2 separate regions of the Homo sapiens genome follow, and region 1 is linked to region 2. The links are contacts of gene promoters, found by promoter capture Hi-C in blood cells and fetal thymus (Javierre and others, 2016). All regions are on one chromosome and are shown on one strand. The core of a region is centred on a gene start or on the middle of the fragment in contact, and the rest is flanking DNA. Distances in the headings are between cores, read along the strand shown.

What was found. Contacts are between HindIII fragments. The CHiCAGO score rates a contact against its expected background, and 5 or more counts as called.
Region 1: a fragment that was not itself captured here is called in contact with the fragment with the promoter of SLC7A2 in region 2 in 1 of 17 cell types (endothelial precursors); the score reaches 6.0 in endothelial precursors.

The regions. Positions count from the first base shown.
Region 1 is chr8:17,704,425-17,707,457 of GRCh38, forward strand. All of the region lies in intron 6 of MTUS1 (microtubule associated scaffold protein 1), which reads right to left. Among named protein-coding and RNA genes, the nearest start is that of MIR548V, 24 kb to the left of the region's middle. The HindIII fragment of the contact is 1,301 bases long and covers 879-2,179 here.
Region 2 is chr8:17,495,770-17,498,740 of GRCh38, forward strand. It overlaps SLC7A2 (solute carrier family 7 member 2), which reads left to right and starts at 1,319. Exons shown (of 13, transcript NM_001370338.1): 1 at 1,319-1,468. The HindIII fragment of the contact is 8,504 bases long and covers 1-2,971 here.

The DNA of each region.
Region 1 (3,033 bases), core at 279-2,778, 210 kb after region 2:
ATCCATCTCGAGTTGATTTTTGTGTACTGTGTGAGATAAGGGTCCAATTTCATTATTTTGCTTGTGGATGTCCAGTTTTCCCAGTACTATCTACAAAAAGACTATCCTTTCCCTATTGTGTATTCTTGGCACACTTGCTGAAGATTAGCTAACCGTATATGCACGGATTTATTTCTAGACTATTTTATTCCATCGGTCTATGTTTCTATATTTGTGCCAGTACCATACTCTTTTAATTACTGTGTGTTGTAATATACTTTAAAATCAGGAACTGTGATGCCTCCAGCTTTGTTCTTTGTCAAGATTGTTTTGGCTATTTGCAGTCCTCTGTCATTCTATATGACTTTTGGGATTGTTTTTTCTATTTCTTTAAAAAAATGACACTGGGATTTTGATAGGGATTGCACTGAATCTGTAGATCTCTTTGGGTGGTATGTCCATTTAGCTTCTATTATAGAGTTGTCTTTATCTTGCTGATTTGACAGAGCTCTACACAGAGTATGTGCTAATATAACCTCAGTTTGTTCTTTGCTTATAAATACTGTTTCTAATGATTTTTATTCTTTTTATTTTTTTTGAGACGGAGTCTTGCTCTGTCACCCAGGCTGGAGTGCGGTGGTGCAATCTCAGCTCACTGCAACCTCTGCCTCCTGGGTTCAACGATTCTTCTGCCTCAGCCTCATGAGTGCTGGGACTACAAGTGTGCACAACCACGTGCAGCTAATTTTTTTGTATTTTTGGTAGAGATGGGGTCTCAGTACGTTGCCCAAGCTGGTCTTGAACTCCTGGCCTCAAGCAATCCACCTGTCTTGGCCCCCCAAAGTGTTGGGATTACAGGCGTGAGCCACCATGCACAGCCTGTTTCTAAGGTTTTTTAAAGCTTTTGTTGTCCTAATTATTAATCGTTTCTATTATACTAGTGTTCCTGGAAAGATCTTTTCTACTTAAGTCTATATTCTTAGTGTTTTAATTACTTTGTGTGTTTAAAACTAATTTATCTGAAATACTTTGTATATATGTGAAAAAGATCTAGCTCCTGCTAAAAAGGTAGTCACTGTCTCAAGAAGATTTACTAAATGATCCACTCCTCACAACCCCCAACACCAATTTGAAACAAAAATGTATCCCATATGAAAAGAGCATCTGTGTTTTAAGTATAGGGGGAAAGTTATGTTAATCATAAAACAACAGTGAAAAAACAGCCTTCTCTCTACTCTCACCAGAAGAAACCCTGGCAGCCTCGGCATCACCTCATCAGCAGGTTTGCAACTTGCAACCACTTCCCAGCACTTGGCAAAAGAAGGCAAGAAAGCCGCCCTGTTCTCCTGTGATGTCTTTACTAAGTAACTGCGGAAGGACCAGTGCATTTTCTACCTTCCAAGGCAGACACTCTGGCACCTGAGAGTGATGATCTTGTGTAAACCAATCAGGGTACTGGATAAATACAGCTCTGATGCCTCTGGTATGCCAGTGGCTTTAGTGTATGGTAGAACCAAGGTAATAATAGTATTCTGTGGTATGTGTGACATCTTCCTTATCAGCAGTAAGCCAAGATTTTTTTTAGAGTCAATATCAACTACAATCTTGCAGCGTCATAACGTTTAAATAAATTACAACAGTTAGACCCCAAGAGGTTGGTTCTTGACTTTAAGCAGTCTTTCCTGCTTGCTTTAGAGATTTAAAATAATTCAACTTCCTGGAAAAGAACCCTAAAAATAAGCCCCTAGAATTATAAAAACAATGTAAAAGATCGCCATCATTACCGTTCCTAGCAGCTGACTTAACTATTATTTGAGAACCTTTTATAAAACAATTCTATGATGTCATATTATTGCCTTTCTGGGAATTATTTCCCCAATATTCCCATGTCTCCAAACGAGAAATTTGAGACTTGGAGAGGCTTAGCAACTAGCCCAAGGTCAGGACACAAATAGAAAGCAGCAGGACGAAGGTTTAAACCAACATCCCGTGCCTTAAAAGTTCGTTCTCCTCCTGCTTTTCTACATTGTCTTATGAGATAATGTAATTTCTTTAATTGATAAAGGTCAAGCTAAAACAATGATGTAACATTTTAAACTATTATGTTAGTCAAAAAAATTTAAAAATAATATCCAATGTTGACCCAAGGTATGATGAAGCCAGGTGTCTTTTATGTCAACCACGGTATAAAATGATATGAAGCTTTTGGAAAACAATTTGGCTATTTGAGTGAAGTGACTGTAAATGGGTACATATTGTGATTTCCTGATACTACTTTTAATAATCTATCACAAGAAATTGAAAGTTGAAAGTGCTAATTGTATAGATGTTCATCATAGAATCATTTATGAATGTGATACAGAAGCACCCTAAATATTCAAAAGTAGTTAAATGTTACTGTATCTGCTAAATGTAAAAGTGATTACTATATGTTAAATGACAAAGCAGGATATACACTTATCTAAATTTCATTTAAAACGACAAATTTTAAAAAGCTGAAGGGTGATTTCTAAACTACATGCTAAACTTTTTGAAGTTTGGCAAACTGCTATAATTAAAAGTGATTATTTTACTAGAACTAAGGAATATGAAGTTGGTCAACTCAACTGTAATCTCCACCACTACTTACAGCTTTAAAATAAAAATATCTCAAAGCCATAGTACAACGATTAAAAATTTACACTCAGAGGAACATGTTTATGTGTGGAGGCAATGTCTTCTGTATCAGCTAAAATATGACTCATTTCCAGCAGAATATGAAAAAAGTCAAGGTGATTTTCAGTCACAGAATATCACAGTAGGGAGAAATCTAGAAATCCACCCTTTCAGTTACATAGAAAACTATTATCAAAGAGGTTCAATGATCCACCCAAAGTCACTGGCTTTTCAGCATCATTTTTCAGCATCAAAGTCGTCTTTCCAAAGCAAACACACTTTGTTGTGGTCCTCTGTCCACACAGTAACTTTTCCTCACTAGGCTCCTCATAATACCAGGTTAGTCTTAAGTCATGATAATAACTAACCATCGAGAAGAACCTGGGAAAGTCATGCTTA
Region 2 (2,971 bases), core at 69-2,568:
GAACTCCTGACCTCAGGTGATCGGCGCGCCTCGGCGTCCCAAAGTGCTGGGATTACAGGCGTGAGCCACCACCCCCAGCCTACACTTTCACTTTTTGATGAAATCCATGGATGGCTTCCTGAGATACATTGAGATTTTGTGTGTGTGCTATCTTCTGGAATGAAGCCCCACACCGTTTATTAGATGATCTTGGGGATATATGTCTTGAAGGGAAGAATGATTTAGAATATCACATTAAAATTGTATATGTACTGTGAGGCAGCAATACAAATCTGGCACTTTGCCAAAGTTATTACTAGTAGGTGGGTTAAAGGGACGTTTACTCCAATACTATGCAAAGTAAAGTGGACCTTTCTGTCAAACAAAAATAGTAATAGGCCGGGCATGGTGGCTCAAGCCTGTAATTCTCAGCCTGGTGGCTCAAGCCTGTAGTTGTCAGCACTTTGGGAGGCTGAGGCGGGAGGATAGCTTGAGCCCAGGAGGTCGAGGCTGCAGTGAGCCACGATTGTGTCACTGCCCTCCAGCCTGGGCGACAGAGTGAGACCCTGTCTCTAAAGACAAACCACACACACATATACACACACACACTGACACACACTTATTGTTCAATTCAGTGCGTGTTTTGCTTCGTTTTGGATGAAAATTAACAGGCTTTCACATTGTGACTTAATCTTATCAGAGACTCCTAAAGTAAACAATAGCGCAGTAGGAGAAACCCTGATTGTGTAACTTCTGCTCTTGCTCCCCTGGAAATAATGTCATTTCCTATAAACCCACCCCCAAACAATCGTGACTACGTATTCATACCACTGGAGTCTTCCAAAATAGCAACTGCACATTATTTATCAACGTTTAGTTTGCATTTGACAAAGCACATCCACCTGGGCTTCCATTTATCATTGCTATTATTATATTTTATTATTATTTTCTTATTTCCAAAATCTTTGTAGAATGGAAAGTAAACGGGGGGACCAAAACCCCACTTAGAACTCTGCTTAGAAGATTCGGAAATGCCCTTGAGGTTTGGTCCTCCCAGGAGAGCACGAAGTTTATCCTCGCGCGCAGCCTCTCTTCCCCGGCCCGCGCCCACCGGCCTAGCCCGGGGCTAGCGCCCGCCCACGTGTGCTCGGCTCCAGGCAAACCCCGCTGAGCAGCGGCCGCACACCGCCCACCCCGGGGATTGGTCAGCGCGGCCGGGGCCCGGCGGGAGGCGGGCTCGGGGTCGCGTTCCGGGAGCGCGGAGGAGGCGGTGCCGCCCGGCCCCGCGCCCCGCCCCCGCCCCGGGTGGCTACACAGAGGGGCGCCCACGTGCCCAGCCCTCCTTCTGCAGCGCGGCCGGCGGGCGCTCCTCTTCGCGGGACCAGCGAGGCGGCGGCCGCTGCTCCAGCGTCCCCCAGCCGCGGGCCCCCGACGCGCTGCAGCCGGCAGCCCACCGCCGCCTTCTTGGCGCGACCCCAACCCAGCCCCAGTAAGTTGCTAGGTCTCCAGCCCCGCCGAGAGGCCGCGGGCGAGGGGCAGCCCGGACGCTGGGGCCGGCGGGGAAGGAGCGGGGCGAGGGCGCCCTGGGGCCGGCGGGGAACTAGAGGGTCGAGGGCTCCCGGGGACGAGTCCAGCTGCGCGCAGCTGCCCTGAGGCCGCGCTCCAGCGAGTCTTCGTCAGGGAGTCGGGGCCGTGGGCTGGGGCTGAAGCCGTGGACCTTCGTCCTCGGGGCTGCGCCCCGGAATGCGCCTCGCCTCGTCCGGTCCCTGTGCAGCCGGCTCTGCCCGGGGACTTCGGGGACCGCTGGAACTGGGAGAGGGGCTGGCACGGCGACTTCGCGGGGACCCTTCAGTCACTATTTCCAGAGGAGCTCGGCGCACCCCTCTCCGGGTGGGCAGGCTGAACCTCCTGGCCCTGCACGCTGCCGGGGTCCCCGAAGCCGCCTTCGCTCCTTTTCGGTTCTTGGCTTAAATTAGAAAGCCGGCTTGGAGCGCTGGAAGCCCCTTCACATTCTGCAGGGGACCTGGTAAAATAGCCCGTCTTGGTGTTTGTATTGGGTATTTTAAAGTAACTGGGTGCCTTTTAAAATCCGTTTGAGATGGGCTGTATTTTATAAGCCCGTTTCATGAAACGCTGTTCTTGAGGCTTAGAGAATCTCCCAACCCATCACCCCAGAGTACCTGTCCGTTCAGAAAGTACCTTTTCATCCTCTTTTGACGCTTACATCCAGTCTATGGAGTAAGGTATTGAGAGATTGTCATCTTCAACTCGTCGAAAAGAAATATGCTCAGCAAAAGCCACAATCATATGTGGCTTTTGAAGTGGATATAGTGCCTGGATTTCAAGAGAAAAAGTACTCAGCCTCTTCAGAGTTGTAAATATTTGTGCAAAACTGGCTAAAGCCTTTAGGTGACTAATTTTGGACCAGTAATAAGATTTATCTAGACGTTTGTGCAGAAACACTAATCCTTTTAATGAGAGGATATCGTCAGATCTTATTCAAATAAGAGCTCTCTGAATCCCATCCAGGGCCGCCTGGGTTATAAAATTAGAATGTATGTGGCCTTGACTTGATACTTTTTCATTCTTGCCTGAGCTAGTCTTTAAAAGTTAATAATTATCTCCTCCGGAAGGTGAAACATTCTGTGTTTGTAATCTTTCTCTAGGAGATGTATAAGATGTGAATATTCTGTATTATGTACCTTGTTAGGATTGCTTTGTAATTAGTAAATCCTTTTTTATTTTAATTGCACTGAAGCGTGACATGAAATGATCTCTCAGTGCAGAACACAGGACTTCTTCCCTCTCCTTTTCCTACAAAGTTGCTAGTTGCCTGCTCTGGGAGGCCACTTTATTGTGATTTTTCAAGTTTCTTCCCTCGGCCCACACTTTGTTTACATTCTGTGCCTTCATCTGGGAATGGTCATTTACCTTAAGGCATTTTAATCTTTTAGGGTGTGCCATGGCCTTGGAGACCAGAGTAAAGCGCTGT